3 separate regions of the Homo sapiens genome follow, and regions 1 and 3 are each linked to region 2. Evidence: promoter capture Hi-C in human tissues and cell types (Jung and others, 2019). All regions are on one chromosome and are shown on one strand. Each heading gives the region's core, a stretch centred on a gene start or on the middle of the fragment in contact. The rest is flanking DNA. Distances are from core to core; before and after follow the strand shown.

Region 1 (3,848 bases), core at 308-2,807, 360 kb before region 2:
GCGGGCAAATATCCAAATTTCTCAGTCCCTGAGGCACATCCTGCCCCACTTCCACCTGGCTCTCCAGGCCCAGACCCAGTGTCTTTTGGAGAGGGAGGTCTGCAAGGGCCTCCCAAGGACTCCAGGTCAGCAACTTGGGGAGGGTCTCCCACAGACAGGAGGTTGTCCCCACGAGGGCTCTGATCAAGCCACAGGAAGTCACCAGCCCCTTCCTCACACTCTGAATGAGCCCCTTGCCTCCTCCATTTCTTTCTTACCCTCACAGGGACTGGGTCTGGTGAGGATGTCAGGGGCCTTCCAGGGGGCTCCTCTTTGCTGAGTGTGGGGCTTCTTCTGTCACACCCTGGAGAACTCATTCCACCGTCTCTGGCCTCCCTGGGCCTGAGGCAGCTCACCTCCTCCACTCCTGCAAGCCTCTCCCTGCAGGCCAGAGCTCTCTCTGGGAGGCCAGCAGACCTGCTACAAAGTTTCCTGGGGCAACTGTCATCTAAGATGTCACACAGAGAAACCTGGAGCCTCTTGGAGGTCAGAGCTCTCCCCTGAGTAGGCACCGAGGGCAGCTGCATGTGGAGCCCAGGAGCCAGCATCGAGCCCCGGCTCTGTACCACAGCTAGCAGCTCCAAGACCCCTGGCCGGACCTCAGCAGCACCTGCAGCCCGGGAGCTGCCACCTCGAAGGGCCTCCTTCCTGGGGATCTTCCTTCTGCTGCCAGCCCTGACTCCGGGCCCAGAGCTTGCTCCCGGCCCATCTGGTGACAGGCCTGGCATGGAGCTGGCTCCTTCCATGTTCTGTAAAAGCTCACAGTTGTGTTGGGGACTGAGCACAGGGTCTCCTGTGCTGGGGCCTTCTACGTCCCCCGCCTGGGACATGTCTGTCCACCTACCTGGGCCAAAAGCACAACACGGGCCCTGTGTGGAGACAGAAAGAGGAGACTTTGTCTTGGAGAGTCCGACCTGTCAGCCCGTTCAGTGGGAACTGGGAGGAGCCCCTCTTCCAGCCAGCTCTCCCAGACCCTTCCACTCCTGAGGCCTAGGGGTGAGCACTCCAGGGAGGGGAGCACCCAGCAGGAGCTGGTGTCCTGGGTGAGGGTGGAGAGGCCTGCCTCCAAACAGGGCCGAGCTACAGTGGCCTCCAGGGTCTTCTTGTCTCTGAGAGTTCACACATTCGCTTAAATGGGACCTAATAAGATACCATTTATTTATGACTTATGTGCTTATTTCATTTCATACTGGCAGCCACAGGTGAGGACACTGAGATTCTGAGATGTTAAGACACTCACCCAAGGAAGCACAGGAAGTGGAAGGGCCAGGAGTCTCTCTCCCAGTTCTCACACTGCGCAAGGAGCAGATACTGAACGGGGTTCGTGCCCATAACCCTTCTCGTCTCTCTCCCATCGGTCCCGTTCTGAAAGGCGCCCCACCCAGGTTCCCAAGCCTTACTGGGACAGTCCCCCAGCATCCAAGAAATCCGGGCCCCATCGGTCGCGTCGCTCTCACCTGGGCTTCCCTGAGTTTTCCCTCCTGGGGTTCCACCCACTAGCTGAAAAGGAGCTGAGATCACGTGATGCGGGGGAGGGAGGCCCTTGCTGAGGGATAGGGGCGGAGTCCCTGATGATGAGCAAAAGGCTGCTCCCCAGGCGTGCTGGCGTTCCTGCCCCGGCAGAGGGCGCCCTCTTCCTCCTGAGGGCTTCCTGGAGGAGGTGCCAATCCTGGCTCCCAAGCAGAGGTAGGTGGGTGCATGGGGCAGCGAGGGGCCTTGGCTGCCTGCCTGAGAGTTTAACTTGATCCTACCGCAATAGTCCCTGAGCCAGTAGGACAATGTCAGAATTACCTAGATTTTTTGCCTAATTTTATTTTATTTTATTTTTAAACTTTTATTTTAGGGTCAGAGGTCCATATGCAGGTTTTTAATATAGGTAAACTTGTGTCACGGGGGTTGTTGTACAGATTATTTCGTCACCCAGTTATCAAGCCTAGTACCCAATATTTATTTTTTCTTATCTTCTACTGCCTCCTACCCTCCACCCTCAAGCAGGCCCCAGTGTCTGTTGTTAACCTCTTTCTGTCCATGTGTTCTCACCATTTAGCTCCCACTTATAAGTGAGAACATGCAATATTTGGTTTTTCCGTTCCTGCATTAGTTTGCTAAGGATAATGGCCTCCAGCTCCATCCACGTTCCTGCAAAGGACGTGATCTCATTCTTTTTTATGGCTGCATAGTATTCCATTGTGTATATGTACCACATTTTCTTTAGCCAATCTGCCATTGATGGGCATTTAGGTTGATTCCATGTCTTTGCTATTGTGAATAGTGCTTGCCTAATTTAAAAAGAAAATCTCAAATATAATTAATGTAGATGGAAATGCAGAATCAATTCCAATAGAAGGTTAGAAATAAAAAGTTTAAAGCTATCTCTCATTTCCCAATACCCCAACTCCTGGAAACAACTGTGTTTTGTTTTTTGTTTTTTACCATGTTTGTCATCATGTTAATTTTTTAAATTTCATAACTGTAAATAATATACTCATGCCTCTATTACTTGATTTATTAATTTTAACTGTGTCTGTTGTATCTGTTGACTTCCTGCTGTGGTGATTTTATTAACCACCCTTTCCCCCTTTCTCTTCCGCTTTTCATATATATATATATATATATATTTTTTTTTTTTTTTTGAAACAGCGTCTCGCTCTGTCGCCCACGCTGGAGTGCAGTGGCACAGTCTCAGCTCACTACAACCTCTGCCTCCCAGGGTCAAGTGATTCTCCTACCTCACCCTCCCGAGTAGCTGGGACTACAGGCACGTGCCACCATGCCCTGCTAATTTTTGTATTTTTCGTGGAGACAGGGTTTCACCATGCTGGCCAAGCTGGTCTCAAACTCCTGACCTCGTGTTCCACCCACCTCAGCCTCCCAAATTGCTGGGATTACAGGCGTTAGCCACCGTGCCTGGCCCTCTTTTTTATATTTATATTTTAAATTTTACTATTGGTTTCTATTATCACTTTGAATACTATTCTTAAATGTCTGTTTCTTCTGTATATTGTATCTCTTGACTCTTCTCTGTGTGAAATGGATAATTTCCCTTGATGTCCCCTCCCTGCTTCTGCCGTTATCCATGAACTAAGCTTTTATTTTTGTATCGCTGAGGTTTATAGCATTTACATTCTATTCGGTAAAGATAATTCAGTTTACCGTTGTTTACCTGTAGATTGATTCTTAACACTGAAAGCCAAATGACATTTATAATGTTATGATTATGTAAATACTTTTACTGCAGAAACAGTGGTGTTTGGCTTTTTTTTTTTTTTTTTTTTTTTTTGAGATAGGGTCTGGCTCTGTCGCTCAGGCTGAGTTGTGGTAGTGTAATCATAGCTCACTGCAGCTTTGACCTCCCAGGCTCAAGTGATATTCCCCTCTCAGCCTCCTGAGTCGCTGGTACTACAGGCATGCACCGCCATGCCCAGCTAATTTTTTTTTTATTTTTGGTGGAGACGAGGTCTCACTATGTGGCCCAGACTGGTCTCGAACTCCTGAGCTCAAGCGATCCTCCCATCTTGGCCTGGGATTTCAGGCGTGAGCCACTGCACCCGGCCAGAACCAGAGATTTGATAAGTCTGATTGCGAGGGAGATGGAATTCCCTGGCACTAAACCTGTGCCAGGTGAGACTGTGAGAACCTTCCAGGCCAATGGAATACTAAATCACAGTTAGACTCAATAAATTAGATCTATATATCAACATGAATGTATCTCAATGATATAATGTGGAATTTTAAAAACAGCATAATATGAATAACAAGGGAAACCGAGTCTGGAGTACACAGGAACTCCCTGTACTAATCTTCAGATT
Region 2 (3,760 bases), core at 419-2,918:
TGACCCTTCTACTACATCCTCTATCCCTCACCCCATGCATACATTTTTATGTTCTTTATCTCACCTAGAACACCCTTGTTATATGGAAATCTATCAAGGCCTGATTTATATGGTGCCTTCTCAAGAGATTTCCAGAATGCTTTTCTAGAAATAATCAGGGCCTTGGTTTCAGGACATCTAGATTCCAACCTTTCTGAGCCTCAGTTCCATCATTATACTAAAAATTGAATATCTCTTATCCAACATGCTTGGGACCAGAAGTGTTTCCAATTTGGGATTTTCTCAAATTTTACCGGTTGAGCTTCCCCAATCTGAAAATCTGAAATCCAACATGCACGGCTCTGAAGTCTTTCACTGAGCCTTTGGGGGAAATATTTAACATCCTAACAGCCCTAAACCAACGCTCAATTAGCACAACAGTTTACAATCTTCTCTACCCACAGCCTGATGCGAGGCTCTGGGACTAGACTATTTAGCCAACAGTTCTTGCAAAATTAACTGACTTATAAGTAAATAGTAATTTCAACACCTCACTGCTAATGCTGTAACAACTCTGCAGACCTAGGGAGCAAGTACGGTTTGCAGAGCACTGGGAAGGCTCTGAAGTGACCTTTGAACTGGGCCTCAAAAAATTTTGGGTTTGGCAAAAGTCAAATCTCTTAGGCTTCAAATTCCAGGCACAAGGATTGTTGGGTTTGATTTCATTATCCAGAAGCAATGGGGATACAGAATTGTGATCTCATGTGTAGGGAACTGTGGGGGTTTTTTCTACTTTAACCCCAGTGAGACTTTGTAGAGTGTGGGGTAGAGAAAAGGCTCATGAATATGCCTGAAGCCTAACTCAGCACCTTTCTGAGGAACTGACTGCCAAAATGGTAATGGAGAGGGGAAAATATGACCTACTTTCACAAGTTACCTTGACTGCCTCAGGGAAACCTGCTGTGGTAGTGTTTCTTCTGGGTGAAAGACCAGGTAATTACCTGGGTGCTGGTCTCAGACTTACCAGTTTTGAATCCCTGTTTTAACCACTCACTATCGATATGACCTTGGATAAGTTACCTAACCTTTCTCTTACTGTCCTTTTCCGTAAAATGGGGATAACAGATAGTAGTTATTTCTATGAGTGGTTATGAGAACCAAGCTATTAGATAGCGGGAAAGCACACAGTAAGCGTTCAAGGAACTGCTATTGTTATTAAAAGCCTCCTTTGGAAGAAGGACATTGAGGCCCAGAGAGAGAACAGAACGTCCAGCCACACAGCAAATCCGTGATGAAGTTGGGACTGGAGTATGGGTCTCCTGAGTCTCAGCCCAGGACTCTATCCCTCTTCCCGAGTCCTCGGAGTTCCCGGATGGAGTCACATTTGTTCACGGCCAGGGAGGAAGGTTTGATGGAGGCCTGCAGGAAACAACAGCCAGGCGCAAGGCTTTGGGAGTTGAAGCATAGCTTCTGCGAGATAGAAACAAGGTTGACATGGGCACTCGTGCAGAATGACGGGCTCCTTTTGGACTCCCAGGACTACAGTCCCTTATGCACCTTGGGATCTGCGGCTAGCCCCTGCGTAAAGAGGGACGCGTAGTCTTTTCCCTGCCCCGCCCTGCCGGGGCGCCCGCCTCCGAGGCCGCCCTCGCTTCGTCCTTCCCAGCAAGCTCCGCGCCGGCGCCGGCTATTGATTGGCTGAGGCGGGAGCAGGCGGCTGGCCGGCAGCAGTTACTCGGGGTTTCCGGTGCGAGGCCAGAGGTGGGGAAGCCATCGGACGTCGGCGGTGAGGTACGTGCAGCGGCGGCCGGTGGGCGAGACTATTTGAGAGTGTGCGGGCCGGGATGTTCTCGGCCTGTGGGGAAATCACGCCAACTCCCCGCGTGGGCCGGGGGCTGTCTGGGGATATGCGCATGCGCGGGCGTGCCTCGCGGCTTGAGGGCGCGCGGGGCGTGGGTGGCTGCGCGCGCGGGGGGCGCACGTGGGGCCTGAGGGGCGGGGGCGGTGCCGGGAGTCCCGCCACGTCAGTCTCCGGCCCTGAGCCAATCCCGCGCCCGGCCTGCCGCGAGGGGGCCGGTTGTGCCGGGAAGTGGCTCCAGGGAGAAGAGGCCTCTTCCCTCACCCGCTGTGGGAGCTGCGCCCCGAAAGCCTGCCCCGGCACGTCGGGCTCTCCTGACCCGCCAAGACCAGAGAGCCGTTGGCGCCCTCCGCCCGGGCCTGCCGGTCCGTTTATTTTAAGAAGCTTTGTGCGCCTGCTGTGGGGATTTCTGATCCAGGCTGCGAAGAATTTCGAAGTCTGGAAAATAGCAACTGTGTTTGTTTCTAAAGGATCTTCTCCTGACCCAGCATCGCTCATCACAATGAAGAACCAAGACAAAAAGAACGGGGCTGCCAAACAATCCAATCCAAAAAGCAGCCCAGGACAACCGGAAGCAGGACCCGAGGGAGCCCAGGAGCGGCCCAGCCAGGCGGCTCCTGCAGTAGAAGCAGAAGGTCCCGGCAGCAGCCAGGCTCCTCGGAAGCCGGAGGGTGTGTGCCAGCTCTGCGTTGCCAGCGGGCAGGGGGAGGAGCTGTGGGGTCGGCCTCGCTTCTGGACTTACAGGCCGAGGCCAGGTTGTCCGGGAGGAGGAGATGTAGAATGAGAGGACAGTGCTGGGGGCCGCGGTCCCCCCTGCGCTCTGGCGAGTTGGCGGAGCTGCCCCCTCTAAGCACAGGAACAGAGTTCTGGAGAGAAGCTCCGACGGGATTAAGTCAGGTGGCAGCCAAACGAGGCACCCAGTCAGGAAATCCAGGTCCCGTTAGAAACACCTCAGCCACCAGCAGCTAACTGCCCTTCCTGTTTGAGGCATTTCTAGAATGATCTGAATGGCAAGAAATGGTTTTGTGGGGGGGAAGGAGATGGACTAGAAGTTGCTCCGTGCCATCCCTGTGTGCTGATGCTTTACATACTTTTATGATCTAACAAATATGTTCGGGTGGTAGTGAGAAATAGTTGTGTCATTTTACAAGTAAACAGACTTAAAGAAGTTAGGCAACGATTACTATAATTTCTTGATTTAAAAGATGTTTCGAATCTAAATTCTGACAGGAACTAGATTTGCTGAATGATACTCCATTCTTGCTTCTCAGTTTCCATAAAAAAAAAAGTTAGGCAACATTTAACTCAAACTGATGAGTTTGGCTGGGCCTGAAAAATCCCAACCAGTGGTATAATCGTCTTCTTTCTCACTCTACCCCTCATCCTCTCCTGCTGTAGGGGCTCAAGCCAGAACGGCTCAGTCTGGGGCCCTTCGTGATGTCTCTGAGGAGCTGAGCCGCCAACTGGAAGACATACTGAGCACATACTGTGTGGACAATAACCAGGGGGGCCCCGGCGAGGATGGGGCACAGGGTGAGCCGGCTGAACCCGAAGATGCAGAGAAGTCCCGGACCTATGTGGCAAGGAATGGGGAGCCTGAACCAACTCCAGTAGTCAATGGAGAGAAGGAACCCTCCAAGGGGGATCCAAACACAGAAGAGATCCGGCAGAGTGACGAGGTCGGAGACCGAGACCATCGAAGGCCACAGGAGAAGAAAAAAGCCAAGGGTTTGGGTGAGCAGAGGGCGGCTCTTTGTGAAGCTGGTGAGGAGAGGGAGTTTGGACTTGACGTTCTCTGGGCCAGTCTGTTCTGCCAGGATTCAAAGGAAAACGGTACTTCTCAGAGCAGCAAGTCACTCTAGTCTAATCAAAGCCAGGGATGTGGGGGCCACGGCATAGAGAGATGCAGGAGTTACCAGCACA
Region 3 (3,461 bases), core at 376-2,875, 430 kb after region 2:
GAACAGCTCTCAGGAGACCCGAAGTGGATAGCTCCTTTCCACAGGCAGGTCGACCTGATGAGTGTCCAGATGACCAGCTCTCACCCAAGAGGAGACCTGCAGGCAGGTCCTTTTAAGGAGACTCAAAGCGGGTAGCTCCTTCCTGCAGCTGGTAGTCCTGACAGCCGGCTGAGTCTGCTGAGACCAGGGGTTTTTATGGGCTCAGAAGGGAGGAAGTGCATGCTGCTTGGTCTGTGGGTGTCCATGGGCAGCCCAGAAAACACCACAAGTTCTTACTCTAGCCCTGGACTCCACCAGGAACTGCCAGACCAACCCCCAGGCTTCAGGCATTCCCTGGCTTGAAGGGGGGATTTCACTGGGAACCCACCCTTTTCCACCCAGGAACCTGTCTGCCTCCTGCCATCAACATGCCCTCCATGGTGCCCAGACTGTGCCAAGGGGCGCCTGCAGGCCCAAACCAAGCCACCGTCATCAACCCCCTGACTGGCTTCCCTCCCACGCACATGGGTGCCCAAAGTTTAGAGGGGGCTGAGGTGGCAGGGGGCTGGCGTGTCAGTGCCACCTCTAGCATGCTCAACCTGGCCAGGTCACGACAACACCTAGGTTTGGCCCAACTTTGCTCTGCAACAGAGCAGGTGCAGGAGCAGAAAGAGGCCAGGGAATGGGAGCAGGCACTTCTGAGCCTGTGGGCGCTGGGAGCTTCCCAAGCCCTGAAGAGTGCAGGGATGCCCAGGTCTGGAGCCGCAGCTGGGCGGCTGCAGCTGTGCCCAGAAGTGTGGGACTCCAGCCCTGCCGATTCAGTAGGGGCAGGGCTCCTGCCTGTAGCCAGCCCCTGTGGGCTTCGTGGAGCCGTGAGCCTCAGCTGCGTTTCCCTCACTGCAGCTGGCATCGCAGCAGCGGCTGTTACAGACGGGCCACTGGTGCCTTTAGTTACAAGAGTTTTAATGATAAAATTCAAGTTATCACAGAAATGGTAGTATATAGCCAGCTGTTTTATATATTGTGAAGTATAAGTAACATATAATTTTGATACAGGAGTTTCTTAACTATTCCTGCTAATGGACCTATGAATAGGCCAGAAAAATGAAATCCACCGAGAATCTGTAAACTTCATTTTCACGTCAGCCTTCTCCCCACAGAACTGTATTAATGCCACCAAAAAAGTAAAATATTTAAATATAATGTTAACAAGTAATGAACCACACAGCAATAGAAGCAAAGGGACTCTTGAAGTCAAAATATCTTGAAGTCAAAATATTTTGCAATTACTGAAATAGTATAACACTTTTCCCTACTCTTTCTTTTTTTTTTTTTTTCTTCAAACCATCAAAATCCGTTGCATACTTTCTCACCTTTAAATAGGAAACCAGAGGCTGGGTACAGTGGCTCACACCTGTAATCCCAGAATTTTGGGAGGCCGAGGTGGTCGGATCATTTGAGGCTAGGAGTTCAAGACCAGCCTGGCCAACATGGTAAAACCCCATCTCTATAAAAAATACAAAAATTAGCCTGGCGTGGTGCCGCATGCCTGTAATCCCAGCTACTCAGGAGGCCGAGGCACAATAATTGCTTGAACCTAGGAGGTGGAGGTTGCAGTGAGCTGAGATCACGCCACTGCACTCCAGCCTGGGTGACAGAGCAAGACTGTCTCAAAAAGAAAAAAGGAAACCAGAGACCAGGGAAATACCCTTTACCTTTACCTTTGCGCTTAGCTAGATCATTTGCAAGCAGAATTTTATACTTTGCCTGCTTTGCTCTTTCAGATTTCCAGATACACAATTCCATTATATAGTTTCTTGATTTTCCCCTTGGGAAAATCATTTATTTCCTTGTTGATATTACTTACAACTACTTATTTTCTTTATTAAAGAGAAACTTATTTTTATTCAGCCCATAAGGGAAAAAGGGAACAACATTTCTGCCTAGACCAGAGATCCTCAACTTTGGTTGCACATTAGAATCACCTGTGGATCTTTTAAAATACAGATGCCTAGGCAAATCAGAATCTCGGGCAGGTGGGGCTTGGGTGTAAGTATTTTTGCAAGCTAGGCTGGCTGGGCACGGTGGCTCACACCTGTAATTCCAGCACTTTGGGAGGCCAAGGCGGGTGGATCAGGAGGTCAAGAGATCGAGACCATCCCGGCCAACATGGTGAAACCCCATCTCTACTAAAAATACAAAAATTAGCTGGGTGTGGTGGCGCATGCCTGTAGTCCCAGCTACTCAGGAGGCTGAGGCAGGAGAATCGCTTGAACCCGGGAGGCGGAGTTTGCAGTGAGCTGAGATTGCGCCACTGCACTCCAGCCTGGCGACAGAACGAGACTCCGTCTGAAAAAAAAAAACCTAGGCTGGATACAGTGGCTCATGCCTGTAATCCCAACACTTTGGGAGACAGAGGTAGGAGGATTGCTTGAGCCTAGGAGTTTGAGACCAGCCTGGGCAACATAACAAGTCGCAGTCTCTACAAAAAATTTAAAAATTAGGTGGGCGTGGTGGCACATGCCTGTAGTCTCAGTTACTCAGGAGGCTCGGGTGGGAGGATCACTTGAGCCTTAGGATCACTGAGTGAAGGATGCAGTGAGCTATGATGGTGCCACTGCACTTCAGCCTGGACGATACAGCAAGATCTTGGCTCTAAAAATAAAAATAAATAAATAAATAAATAAATAAATAAATAAATAAATAAAAGCTTCCCAAAGTTTGTGACATGCAAAATAGGGCCCATTCAAGGTTTCCCTCTGTCCTCCCCATATAGATGCCAAGGAGAGGCAGTAGGACTATTTGACCTTACAGTCCACTGGTTCTCAACCGTATCATTAAGGAAAAATTTAAAAATAGAGGTGTCCAGTCCAGGAAAATATTTATTTTTGTAAAATTTCAAGACACACTGCATGTTCCATTATCTAAGGTTTTTAATAGAGACAAGTAATATCGACACTCTAATAAAATAATGAGTAGTCTTAAAATACCCCATTTTTATTTTGGGATGCATTTGCATTTTATTTGATTATGGGTATTGCATTCTGGGAATTCACACAGTATTTCAAACCAATAAAAGAACTATGTAATGAATACGTGACTGAAATACTACATACTGAAATTTTACAAGCTTTAATATTTTCTTTTTAAAGAAAGGAACCAGAACACTCCAAGCTCTGTAAAAGCTCAATTGCTACACTTTAGAATTCCATAAAATAATTGAATTAAGTCATTCTTTAGTTCCAGTTAAATGGAATACTAGAGAGGCAGGAAAATACTACTGTATTATTTAAAGAAGACTTCAGACGAATTTGGAAACAAAGCAAACTTCTCTTTTGCTTTATTTCTTCAAGAATTACCATTTTTAAAAAAAGCTTTAAAAATAAAACACAACTTTTAGATAGAGTACCATTTTCATTCCCACCTTGAAGGTTATGTTTGCAATCCATTCATGACAAGTATATCTCTTCAGTCTCCTGCAA

The links. Contacts are between HindIII fragments. The study calls those that stand out against the background at their distance.
Region 1: the fragment with the promoter of SPOCD1 here is called in contact with the fragment with the promoter of TXLNA in region 2 in 2 of the 25 tissues and cell types used here (lymphoblastoid cells and small bowel).
Region 3: a contact is called between a fragment that was not itself captured here and the fragment with the promoter of TXLNA in region 2, in 1 of the 25 tissues and cell types used here (aorta).

The regions. Positions count from the first base shown.
Region 1 is chr1:31,814,465-31,818,312 of GRCh38, forward strand. It overlaps SPOCD1 (SPOC domain containing 1), which reads right to left and starts at 1,558. Exons shown (of 16, transcript NM_144569.7): 1 at 1,497-1,558; 2 at 1-908. The coding sequence starts at 869. The HindIII fragment of the contact is 15,941 bases long and covers 1-3,848 here.
Region 2 is chr1:32,178,007-32,181,766 of GRCh38, forward strand. TXLNA (taxilin alpha) reads left to right here and starts at 1,669. Exons shown (of 11, transcript NM_175852.4): 1 at 1,669-1,770; 2 at 2,308-2,508; 3 at 3,236-3,571. The coding sequence starts at 2,340. RefSeq lists enhancers at 847-1,606, 1,607-2,365, 2,253-2,332, 2,453-2,612, 2,623-2,672 and silencers at 1,543-1,732, 1,873-2,052. The HindIII fragment of the contact is 8,351 bases long and covers 1-3,760 here.
Region 3 is chr1:32,606,694-32,610,154 of GRCh38, forward strand. It overlaps LOC102723870 (a long non-coding RNA gene), which reads right to left. Exons shown (of 3, transcript XR_426677.5): 2 at 3,404-3,455; 3 at 1,856-2,634. Among named protein-coding and RNA genes, the nearest start is that of ZBTB8OS, 42 kb to the right of the region's middle. RefSeq lists an enhancer at 1-387. The HindIII fragment of the contact is 3,211 bases long and covers 21-3,231 here.